Linked DNA regions of Homo sapiens: regions 1, 3 and 4 are each linked to region 2. The links are contacts of gene promoters, found by promoter capture Hi-C in blood cells and fetal thymus (Javierre and others, 2016). All regions are on one chromosome and are shown on one strand. Each heading gives the region's core, a stretch centred on a gene start or on the middle of the fragment in contact. The rest is flanking DNA. Distances are from core to core; before and after follow the strand shown. Region 1 overlaps ATP2B2 (ATPase plasma membrane Ca2+ transporting 2). Region 2 holds the start of VHL (von Hippel-Lindau tumor suppressor). Region 3 overlaps IL17RE (interleukin 17 receptor E). Region 4 overlaps EMC3 (ER membrane protein complex subunit 3).

What was found. Contacts are between HindIII fragments. The CHiCAGO score rates a contact against its expected background, and 5 or more counts as called.
Region 1: a contact is called between a fragment that was not itself captured here and the fragment with the promoter of VHL in region 2, in 1 of 17 cell types (neutrophils). The highest score is 5.7, in neutrophils.
Region 3: a fragment that was not itself captured here is called in contact with the fragment with the promoter of VHL in region 2 in 3 of 17 cell types (total CD4 T cells, total B cells and activated CD4 T cells); the score reaches 5.4 in total CD4 T cells.
Region 4: a contact is called between a fragment that was not itself captured here and the fragment with the promoter of VHL in region 2, in 1 of 17 cell types (activated CD4 T cells). The highest score is 5.8, in activated CD4 T cells.

The regions. Positions count from the first base shown.
Region 1 is chr3:10,327,185-10,330,175 of GRCh38, reverse strand. It overlaps ATP2B2 (ATPase plasma membrane Ca2+ transporting 2), which reads left to right. Exons shown (of 23, transcript NM_001001331.4): 23 at 1,051-2,991. The coding sequence ends at 1,362. Among named protein-coding and RNA genes, the nearest start is that of MIR378B, 1.5 kb to the left of the region's middle. RefSeq lists an enhancer at 1,344-1,892. The HindIII fragment of the contact is 4,701 bases long and covers 1-2,991 here.
Region 2 is chr3:10,139,935-10,143,027 of GRCh38, reverse strand. It overlaps VHL (von Hippel-Lindau tumor suppressor), which reads right to left and starts at 1,250. Exons shown (of 3, transcript NM_000551.4): 1 at 841-1,250. The coding sequence starts at 1,180. It also overlaps the pseudogene LOC124906359. RefSeq lists an enhancer at 1-333. The HindIII fragment of the contact is 16,438 bases long and covers 1-3,093 here.
Region 3 is chr3:9,903,077-9,906,113 of GRCh38, reverse strand. It overlaps IL17RE (interleukin 17 receptor E), which reads right to left. Exons shown (of 16, transcript NM_153480.2): 2 at 2,702-2,717; 3 at 1,963-2,082. Among named protein-coding and RNA genes, the nearest start is that of IL17RE, 1.7 kb to the right of the region's middle. RefSeq lists an enhancer at 2,393-3,037. The HindIII fragment of the contact is 3,209 bases long and covers 183-3,037 here.
Region 4 is chr3:9,968,655-9,971,478 of GRCh38, reverse strand. It overlaps EMC3 (ER membrane protein complex subunit 3), which reads left to right. Exons shown (of 8, transcript NM_001394674.1): 6 at 818-897; 7 at 1,678-1,760. Among named protein-coding and RNA genes, the nearest start is that of EMC3, 17 kb to the left of the region's middle. The HindIII fragment of the contact is 571 bases long and covers 1,184-1,754 here.

The DNA of each region.
Region 1 (2,991 bases), core at 360-2,859, 190 kb before region 2:
ACAACTGAGACAGAAAATGAAAGAACTTGCTGTTTTGTGACTCAGTTCCACACACCCCAGAATCCCACTGGGGCTGGGTTTGGCCATCTGATTCCAGCCTCGTTTTTTGGTTTTGTGTTTTCAAAGCACAAATAAAGAAATAAACAAAATCCCCCAGGAAATAAGAGACCCCAAAGCAAGCTCCAATAACTGGCCGGCCAGGGCTTTGAGTCTATACTCGAGTGTTTACCTCCCAAATGCATGAAGGAAAGAAACGCTGGGTACAAACGACCTCCGTTCACATTGTCCAGGCTTCCAAGTGTAGCCGTGTGTCTGTCTGTGTGTGCCATGTGGCTCCCGGCCTCCCCGTGGCATGCAGCCCGCCCCCGAATGTCATCTGTCCGCCAGCTCCCATGTGCTTTCTGGCTGCCTCTGCTCTGCACCTCAGAAAGCCCTGGGTTGGCTTTGGTTTGCTTTGCTGCCTTTGGTTTGATGTTCCCGTTCTGTTTGGCCCTCATGTGTCTCTCTCATCCCAACTCATCCAACCGTCTCTCCTTTCTGTGCCTTTTCTGTTTGTGACACGTAACATGTTCCATGTTGTATGGTTTCTTAACTGTGTGTGGTTTTCCTAAGATGAATTTTTTTAATAGCCTCTCCTCTTTCCTACTTGATTCCCACCTGGTCCTCCTCCCTGTCTGCATGGTTGAACCTCTGCTTTAAAGTGAACAAGGCTCAGTCTCTCACTAGGTGTGGGTGCCCGCAGGAGTCGACTGTGCTTCCTTTAACCACTGTTCCCCATCATCTCTTTGATGGTGCTTGGTGATTCCTCCTGTCCTAACACTAGTTTCTACCAAAACCAAAGAGATTTTTAAAAACCAGCTCAAGGATGCCTATAACCTGAGCCCCCTTTTTCACTCTCCCCCATCCTGTCAATGCTAATAACACCCAGCGACTATGGATTCCAGCCACCTGCTTTGCCCTAACCCTTCTCCCACCCGCCCCTCCTGTGAGCCCCCCGAGCCTGGCTGTGGTCCCTGGGCAGTGCTCCTGACCCCTGTGCTTCCCTTGCAGATCCGCGTCGTGAAGGCGTTCCGTAGCTCTCTCTATGAAGGTTTAGAAAAGCCTGAATCTCGAACCTCCATCCATAACTTCATGGCTCATCCTGAATTCCGGATCGAAGATTCCCAGCCCCACATCCCCCTCATTGATGACACCGACCTGGAAGAAGATGCCGCGCTCAAGCAGAACTCGAGCCCGCCGTCATCCCTCAACAAGAACAACAGCGCCATCGACAGTGGGATCAACCTGACGACCGACACAAGCAAATCAGCTACCTCTTCAAGTCCAGGGAGCCCCATCCACAGCCTGGAGACGTCGCTTTAGCTGAGGACCCTCTCGCCTGCCCGCCCGCCCTCATGGACCCCGCTGCCACCCGCTTTCCGGGCACCCATCCATCCAGGCACCCAACTCACCCAAGCAGCAACGAGCAACAATCGGAAACCAAATACTGGAGAGAAAACCAACGTTTCCACCCACAGACCCTTTCTCTGGCTGCGATGCTGTTTGAACTCTTTTTCACTTCAAGGCAAGGGGCGGGATCTCCACTGGGGGCTTACGGGAGTGAGCGGTTTTCCCAAAACAAGCCCTTCCTGGCTCCCACCCAGACATGGACCAGCCATGCACCCGCCCAGCCACCACGTCCCCCGCATGAATGTACTGTACACTTTCAATCCTCCCCTTGTTTGGTTTTTGGGGGTTGGGGAGGGGTTTTTGTTTGTTTGTTTGTTTTCTTAGGCGGGAACTGCAAACAGACTCTTTTCTGAGACTATTTATCCAATCCACTGGTCTGTGAGTTTTTGAAATGCTTGCACAGCATGGTCTCAGTTGTATAGATTAATTTAATAACTTTTTGAAATTGCAGAGCTTAACTCGCCTAGTAGATTTGCACCAATGGAACCGAAGAACTTCATAGACACTCACAAGGTTATATCCATTTCTTTGTATCTATATCAACGTATACTTTTCCGAGACTGTATACGTCCATATAGATAGGTAGATATATATATATATATATAAATATATATACATGGATATATAAAGTTTCTTTGCCGGCATGTTGCCTTGTTTCCGCTTAAATTGCTCTATTTTAACTTATTTATGTCCTAAAAGAAGAATGTAATTTGTTTACAAACCTGTAGATAACGTCTTTGGCTATTTGTATGGTTTAAGAACACTGGTGGCTGAGATGCTATAAAAACAGCTCGGCCCAACAGACACTTCCCCTGGGTTGCATCCTGGATGTTTTATGATAGCCATGCTCTGATTTTTGCCTGCTATTTCCGTTCAATAATGTCACTACCGTGAGAGGCTCAGGCAGAAGCCAAATGCTACCGAGTTGCCATCCTGAGGGGTTTAACAACATGCTCCGTAGACGAAGGGAGAGGAGGAGAGAAGGCTTCCTGGGTTTGCAACACTAACGGCCATCCGGCCCAAGGATGCCAGGATCTGCAAAGCACTGCTCGAAGACTTTTCTCTCAATGAAACTCGCTTGAGTTTACTAAGAGCATTTCAAAAATAGGTTCTCTTTGGCACTGTCTGTACAGAGATTGAGGTAGTGTTGAAATATTATAAATGGTATTGTGTTGATTTTTTTTTTTATTTAGTAACTTACAGGTTTGTTTCCTTATTAATGGCAGCATCTGAGCTGTTGGCATATTGGATGAGGATCAGTATGGCTTGCTGCTTTTATTTTTATTTTTGAAGAAGAATAGCCTTTTTCTCTGCACTATTTAGATCCGAATGAACCTTATGATGTGTATATTGAGATGTACTCAGTGTGATTTTAAACCAAATTGTCTTCCTGTAGTCACAATATATACTGTAGCCTTTTAACAGCAAGTCTTGCTTTCCCAAACAGAAAGCCATTCTGAAACCCTACAGTATCACAGGTGAGAAAAGGTGGTTATTTTTTCCCCAAGACAACAGCACTAGTAATCCCACTTAATAAGAGCT
Region 2 (3,093 bases), core at 1-2,500:
TCTTACCTAGGGTTGGCTAGTTCCTACTCCATCCTGCTCTCTTCCTTCTCCGGGAAGTGCTCCTTAACTGAAACCACACAACCGCAACCCCTCCATCTCCCAGCAGGCAGGTAAGTCAATTTCCCACGCCACACACGGTCGGCTCTTCCGGCGCCAACATGACCCTGGCTTGTTCCTGTCTTTGCATCTGTCAGTCTCCCCAGGAGGAATGTGTTCTCCACGAGGGCAGGGACTACGCAGAACTGGCCCACTGGAGTCATGAGGACTGAACAGATGGGGTGTTAAGGATGCAGCTTTTCTTTGAGGGGAAAATACACGTGGGGTGGGGGACTGGGGGGAGCCACCTTCAAATGCAAACTATTCGGCCTTATAAAGAATGCTCTGGGCCGGGCGCGGAGGCTCATGCCCATAAGCCCAGCACTTTGGGAGGCCGAGGCGGGCGGATCACGAGGTCAGCAGTTCGAGACCAGCCTGACCAACATGGTGAAACCCCGTCTCTACTAAAAATATAAAAATCAGCCGGGCGCGGTGGCGCACGCCTGTAATCCCAGCTACTCAGGAGGCTGAGGCAGGAGAATCGCTTGAACCCGGGAGGCGGAGGCTGCAGTGAGTCGAGATCGCGCCACTGCACTCCAGCCTGGGCGACAGAGCGAGACTCCGTCTCAGAAAAAAAAAAAAAAAAAAAAGAATGCTCTGACGCTTACGAGCAGCGTCACCCTGGATGTGTCCTGCCTCAAGGGGCCTCAGTTCCCCGTCTGCAAAATGGACCCCGGGGCGGTAGAGGGGCTTCAGACCGTGCTATCGTCCCTGCTGGGTCGGGCCTAAGCGCCGGGCCCGTACCTCGGTAGCTGTGGATGCGGCGGCCCGTGCCAGGCGGCAGCGTTGGGTAGGGCTGCGGCTCGCCGTCGAAGTTGAGCCATACGGGCAGCACGACGCGCGGACTGCGATTGCAGAAGATGACCTGGGAGGGCTCGCGCGAGTTCACCGAGCGCAGCACGGGCCGCGGCCGCCCGGCCTCCATCTCCTCCTCGGCGCCCAGTTCCTCCGGGCCGGACTCTTCCGGGCCGGACTCCTCGGCGCCCGACTCCTCCCCGCCGTCTTCTTCAGGGCCGTACTCTTCGACGCCTGCCTCCTCCGCGCCTACCTCGGCCTCGTCCCAGTTCTCCGCCCTCCGGGGCATTCCCTCCGCGATCCAGACCACCCGGGCCGGACGCCGCGGGATCCGCGGGTCGGACGCGGGGCGGAGCTGCGTGCGCGCTCCCGAGTCGACCTCCGTAGTCTTCGCGCGCGCTCGGTAGAGGATGGAACGCGCTCGCGGAAATAGCCGGCCGGAGGCTGTGCGCGTGCGCAGAAGGATCCTCCAGCACCGTAGGCCGTTGTAACGGAGGCGAGGCTAGGCCAACTCGTTACTGTATTTCCACTATAAAATTTTTTTTCGCCCCTCTAAGGTTTGGTGTTTTTTTTTTTTTTGAGACAGGGTCTCACTCTGTCGCCCGGGCTGGAGTGCAGTGGCGCGAGCTTGGCTCACTGCAGCCTTGACCTCCCTGGCTCAAGCGATCGTCTCGCCTCAGCCTCCCGAGTAGTTGGTACTGTAGGCGCGCACCACCATGCCCGACTAATTATTTTTATTTGTTGTTTGAAACGGAGTCTCGCTATGTTGCCTAGGCTGGTCTCGAACTCCTGGGTTCAAGTGATCCTCCTGCCTTGGCCTCTCAAAGTGCAGGGATTACAGGCCTTAGCCACTGTGCCTGGTGGACTAACTGAATTTTTTTTTTCTTCATGTCAGACGCGCAATGTGCCGACGTCGTAACAAGGTTCGAGGGTGGCGCATCTCACACGGGAACACCCAATCATCACGCTTATAAAGTACAAAAAGTCAACTAACTGAATTCTTACAAGGCATGGGTGATTAGTAAAGAGGGAAAAATAATTAGACCTACTATGTGCAGAGCACTCTGGTGGAAATTGGAAAATCAGATATTTACTTCAGAGCAATTAAAACTACAAACATAAACACTCATTAACTTTGTTCATTTTACAAATATTTATTAAGGCCCTACTATGTACCACCTATGGTGATAAGTGTTGAAAATATTGTAAAAACCGGTCATGTTTCCTGCCTTCACTGCACTTCAATAAAAGCGTCATACGGTAATCAATCACACAAATAAAATAGCAACTATGGCCGGGTGCAGTGGCTCATGCCTGTAATCCCAGTACTTTGGGAGGCTGAAGTGGGCTGATCACAAGGTCAGGAGTTCTAGACCAGCCTGACAACATGGTGAAACCTCGTCTCTACTAAAAATACAAAAATTAGCCTGGCGTGGTGGTGCGCGCATGTAATCCCAGCTACTTAGGAGGCTGAGGCAGGAGAATTGCTTGAACCCGGGAGGCGGAGGTTGCAGTGAGCTGAGATTGTGCTACTGCACTGCAGCCTGGGTGACAGAATGAGACTCTGTCTCAAAAAAAAAAAAAAAAAAAGTGCAACTGTGACTAGTACGACAAAAAGAGACAGGGTACTATAGAAGGCTAAAGATCTGGGGGTCAAGGAAGATGGTACACAATTCTGTGTAATTAAATGTTCAATGATGTGGGATGGACTCAAGTGGAGAAGCAGCTCAGAAAAAGAAGGGTTCAGAGAGTTTTATATTAGTTAAAAATAATTTTTTTTTAGACAGTCTCGCTTTATCACCCAGGCTGGAGTGCAGTGGCTCAGTCTCAGCTCACTGCAACCTCCATCTGCCGAGTTCAAGTGATTATCGTGCCTCAGCCTCTGGAGTAGCTGGGATTACAGGTGTGTGCCACCACACCCAGGTAATTTTTGTACTTTTAGTAGAGACGGGGTTTCACCATGTTTGCCAGGCTGGTCTTGAACTCCTCACCTCAGGTAATCTGCCTGCCTTGGTTTTCCCAAGTGCTGGGATTACAGGTGTGAGCCACCGTGCCCAGCTCAAAAATAAATTTCAAGTAGAAAGAAAAAAATCTATCAAGTGCCAGACACTGTGCTAAGCATCCCACGTGAATTAAGGCTATGTCATTATCTCCATTTCACAGCTAAGGAAACAGAAGGGTATATAAGAATGTGAAGGCCTA
Region 3 (3,037 bases), core at 538-3,037, 240 kb after region 2:
CCATGCCCGGCTAATTTTGTATCTTTAGTGGAGACGGGGTTTCTGCGTGTTGGTCAGGCTGGTCTCGAACTCCCAACCTCAGGTGATCCGCCCGCCTCGGCCTCCCAAAGTGCTGGGATTACAGGCATGAGCCGGCCTGATAGTAAGTCGTTTTAAATCAAGGAGGGTAAGGATGTCAAGCTTCTTTAATCTTGAAAATTATAAAGCAATCAAGAAAAGATTAATTTCTTAAGCAGAGAAAAAGCTATATATACAAAGATATTCATTTTAGCATTCTTTAATTTTTATTTTTTGGAGACGGAGCCTTGCTCTGTCACGCAGGCTGGAGTGCAGCGGCGCGATCTTGGCTCACTGCAATCTCCGCCTCCTGGCTTCAAGCGATTCTCCTGCCTCAGCCCCCAGAGTAGCTGGGACTACAGACGCCTGCCACCACGCCCAGCTAATTTTTTGTACTTTTAGTAGAGACGGGGTTTCACCATGTTAGCCAGGATGGTCTCGATCTCCTGATCTCAAGATCTGCCCACCTCAGCCTCCCAAAGTGCTGGGATTACAGGCGTGAGCCACCACGCCAGTCCCTGCCTCTCTCTCTTTTCTTTCTTTCCTTCATTCCTTCCTTTGTTCCTTCCTTCCTTCGTTCCTTCCTTCCTTCCTTCCTTTCTTGACAGGATTTTGCTCTGTCATGGAGGCTGGAGTGCAGTGGCACAATCACTGCTCACTGCAGTCTTGAACTCTTGGGCTTAAGCAATCCTCTCACCTCAGCCTCCTGAGTAGCTGGGATTACAGGCATGCACCATCACACCTGGCTAATTTTTGTATTTTTAGTAGAGACGGGGTTTCACCATGTTGGCCAGGCTGGTCTCAAACTCCTGACCTCAGGTGATCTGCCCGCCTCAGCCTCCCAAAGTACTGGGATTACCGGCATAAGCCACTGTGCCCAGCCCTGTAGCATTATTTCTAACAACAAACAATTAGAAAAATTAAACACTGCCTATTCTTTTTTTTTTTTTTTTTTTTTTTTTGAGACAGGGTCTCACACTGTCATCCAGGCTGGAGTGCAGTGGCGCTATCTTAACTCACTGCAACCTCCACCTCCTGAATTCAGGTGATCCTCCCACCTCAGCTTCCCAAGTAGCTGGGACTTCAGGTGTGCACTACCACATCCAGCTAATTTTTGTATTTTTTTGTAGAGATGGGGTTTGGCCATGTTGGCCAGGCTGGTCTCAAACTCCAGGACTCAAGCGATCCACCCACCTTGGCCTCCCAGAGTGCTGGGATTACAGGTGTGAACCATCATACCTGGCCCAGAAACTGCCAATTCTTTTTTTGGAGATGGAGTTTTGCTCTTGTCGCCCAGGCTGGAGTGCAATGGCATGATGTCGGCTCACTGCAACCTCCACCTCCTGGGTTCAAGTGATTTTCCTGCCTCAGCCTCCTGAGCAGCTGGGATTACAGGTGCCTGCCACCAGGCCCTGCTAATTTTTTGTATTTTTAGTGGAGACAGGGGTTTCACAATGTTGTCCAGACTGGTCTCGAATTCCTGACCTCAGGTGATCAGGCTGCTTCAGCCTCCCAAAGTGTTGGGATTACAGGCGTGAGCCACCGCGCCTGGCCTAGAAACTGCCAATTCTTAAGCAATGTAAGGGCATTTAGTATGTACCAGGCACTGAGCTGAGCAATTAAAATATAGAGTAAGAAAGAAGATCCTGCTCTACAAATAGATGGTAATAACAATAAATCCATAGCTTTTAATTCCAAGAATCTCAGCTGAAAAAAAACCTTCATAAAATTGTACAATTGTATTTGTGAATATCAGTCATAGCGTGCTATTTTAGGATAATCCAAGTCCCAGTTGAGGTTAAAACAAGACAAATATCTGTTCTAGTAAGTCCCACTTGCTCAGCCTAGGTGGTCCCTCAAAATGTTCTCTTCACTGAGAATGGCCCAAGGGGCTGTTTCTCATACCTGAGCCACCTGACAGCAGATGCTGGCACAAACAGCGGGAACAGTGCCAGACTCGCACACACCAAGGCTTTGTGGAGAAGAGGGCCCACCAGGTGCGGCAAGGGATATAGGCAGAACTTCCTGGGAAAGATGGAAGGGAAAGCAAATGATAGGGTCTAAGAAGGTCCCTCCTACCTCCAACAAGCTGGATTTGAGGCCAAGCTCTGTCACATCCTGGAAGTATGACTTTGGGGGTTACAGGACCTGTCTAAGGATCAGATTCCTCATTCATAAAGCGGGTCTGTTATAAAAATCAAAATTGTAGTGTATGGGAAAATGTCTTGTGAAGTAGAACATACCATAAAATAGGAAGGATTATTGTTGTATTACTGATAGAAGTGAGGGATCAGTTAAGGGGAGGAGCCAACATATATGGAGAACCTGGAGATTTACTCATGTTTCTCATCTAATCCTCTCTACAGATCAGAAGCAACACTGCCTTTAGTGTACAATCATTTCTACTATGCTACTACCCCTCAGAAACTGAGGGTCAGTTGGAGGGGTTAGGTGCACAGTCTGAGGCCACACGGGAGTCTGGCAGAACTGCAATGTGAACCCAGGCTTGTCATGATTCCAAATTTTTCCTTGATATTGTGCTACTTCCCGGGTTGGGAACTGAAAATTAGAATGGAGGGCTTGCTAGGCATCTGCAAAAATAGTGGGCGTGGGGAGGAGCAATGGGGCAGGAAATGCGACTCACCAGTGAAACTGTCATCCTGAGGCACAGGGCCCAGTAGGGAAAAGAAAGGAAAGAGCTATTATTAGGAGAGACTCCCATAAGGCACATTCCTGGGGTCTTTGCTTCAAATCAGCAAATTCTGAGCCCCATAGCTAATAGCCCATACCTTCTGGCTCTTATCTTCCCAGCTCCACCCTGTCCAGGCCCTCAGCACAAAGGACCTTGGCTACCCCTTTGAGACTAGGTAGAGGACACATCAAAGCTGCCACCAGAGCACAGGGACTGCGGAGGTAGCACAGGGCAGGCAGGGGAGTGGGGAGCTTTATGGCTGTGCCAGGCAGGTGTCCCTACCTGGCA
Region 4 (2,824 bases), core at 220-2,719, 170 kb after region 2:
TAGACTCTTGCCCTTATGTGACCCACTTGTTGGAATGAGTGTGGATCTTTCCATTTATCTATCACTTCCCATATGCATTTTTGTTTTTAGTTTTTATTATATGCAAGCATATTTATTTTATGGAGGTTGAGTAGGAAACCTAAGCTAAAGGAAGCCTCAGTGATATAGTTCAAAACTTGGAATGGCTCTCCCAGTAGCTATAGTCCTCGGTACTGTATTTCCTGAAATCCATGTCTCATCCCTTCTTGTAAGTATGGAACACACCCAGTGGCTCACGCCTGTAATCCCAGCACTTTGGGAGGCTGAGGTGGGCGGATCACTTGAGGTCAGGAGTTCGAGACCAGCTTGGCCAACATGGTGAGACCCCATCTCTAATAAAAATATAAAAATTAGCCAGGCATGGTGGTGTGTGCCTGTAGTCCCAGCTACTCAGGAGGTTGAGGCAGGAGAATCTCTTGAACCCAGGTGGCAGAGGTTGCAGTGAGCCAAGATTGCGCCACTGCACTCCAGCCTGGGTAACAGGGTGAGACTCCGTCTCAAAAAAAAAAAAAGTATGGAACACACCAACACTTGTGATTTCCTCTAGGGAATGGAATTCAGAATGGGAGTCACCTTTGGATTTTTTGAAATATAGTTCTGTATTGGTGAGACTGCTTTAACAACTTGTATTTCTTCTGTGGTTGTGCTTTGGATGAATATAGCCCATCCAAGGTGACTTCTTTACAAACACTGAACAACTTTGGGTGGTAGGGAAGTGGGAACTGCATTACTCTCTGATATAATAACTAACCACACCATTTTCATTTTGCTTTGCCAGGGTGAGTTCTGCATCCTGGTACTTCCTCAATGTATTTGGGCTTCGGAGCATTTACTCTCTGATTCTGGGCCAAGATAATGGTAAGAAGCATGTCAGGTTTACTAAGCAAATACTTCCATAGATGAATCATCCATATTAGAGCCAGAAAAGTCTTGTAGGTTGTGCTGTTTGTTACCATAGTCAAATAAAATGTTTCCTTCCTTAAGTTTCTGAGGTATTCTGAAAGAGTCTTAAAAATTCCGGGGGTCAAACTGAAGATCTCAATTCTCTCTGGCAATGACTGGGACAGTATTTTGATTCCCCAGAGTCTGATACCATCATGTGAGGGATCCAGCACCAGCAGTGTAAGCCTGTGAACCTAAAGCTTAAAGAAGGCTTGGTTTGTCAGTTCATTGACTAGAGCCCTTGCCAGTACTAATCCTTGCTCTCTTGTTTACTGGCTGGGACCTCAGAAAAGTTACTTAACAAGTTACTTAACTTCGAATTCTCTATTTACTTATCTGTAAATAAGGACTTTATTAGTTAACCTGTGGGGTTGTTAGGAACAGATGAGGAAAAATATGCAAAGCACTTAGTGAAGTACTTGGCATGCAGTAGTTGCTCAATAACTGGTGGCTGTTATTGTTGAAATTTGAAATAAAGTTTAGAGCTTCCTTTAGTGATCTCTCTTTTGCTGTTACTGTCCCCATTTTTCAGGAGACACAAAGTGACTTTCCTAGAGTCACATAGCCAGTGGGTGACAGGGCCAGCCAGTGAGGCTGTAGTCCAGTTCTCTAATCTGTGTGAAGCCCATTCTTCCCCTTGGGTGCTGGGGTGCTTGCTGAGTCCTGGCACTCATGTAAGTGTGTCTTATGCTACAGCCGCTGACCAATCACGAATGATGCAGGAGCAGATGACGGGAGCAGCCATGGCCATGCCCGCAGACACAAACAAAGCTTTCAAGGTATACTCCTTCACCTTTCAAAGCTGCAGCAATGCTCTGAAAGGTGTTACCAAGAGCTATTTTAAAAATAGCTTCCTTGAAGGGAGTGTTGTGTGGTTCCATCGTTTTAATTTAAACTTAGTAAAAACATAGTTTACACGTCTCTCTTTCCTGAGACAGAATCATCTATTAAGTAAATGGAAATTCTTGGTGCTTTTACTGGTTTTTAAATGCTCACTGGAATTTAATCCACACTATCAATGATGCTGTAAAATAATCCAATCGGAGGTGCCAGGTAAACATTTAGAATAATTTGAACCTTTTTGAACCCCATAGACATCAGATATAAATTGCATTAAAAAAACAATACTAAGAGCCTTTTCACAAAAAGGTTCTAGAATTTGCAAAATTTAGTATGATTTTTGTGGGACAAAATCTCACTGTGTTTCATGATAGAAACTAAAAGAGAAGGGAAGTTCCGGCCAGGCACAGGGGCTCACACGTGTAATCCCAGCACTTTGGGAGGCCAAGGTGGGCAGATCACCTGAGTTCAGGAGTTCGACACCAGCCTGGACAACATGGTGAAACCCTGTCTCTATTAAAAATACAAAAATGGGCCAGGTGCGGTGGCTCACGCCTGTAATCCCAGCACTTTGGGAGGCCAAGGCAGGTGGGTCAGCTGAGGTCAGGAGTTCAAGACCAGCCTGGCCAACATGGTGAAACCTCTTTTCTACTAAAGATACAAAAAAAAAATTTGCTGGGCATGGTGGTGGGCACCTGTAATCCCAGTTACTTGGGAGGCTGAGACAGAATTGCTTGAACTCAGGAGGTGGAGTTTGCAGTGAGCTGAGATTGATTGCACCATTGCACTCCAGCCTGGGCAACAAGAGCAAAACTCTGTCTCAAAAAAAAAAAAAAAATACAAAAATGAGCTGGGCACGGTGGCATGTGCCTATAATCCCAGCCACCCAGGAGGCTGAGGCAGGAGAATCACTGGAACCTGGGAGGCGGAGGCTGTAGTGAGCCAAGATCGTGCCACTGCACTCCAGCCTGGATGACAGACCAAGATTCCGTCTCAAAAAAAA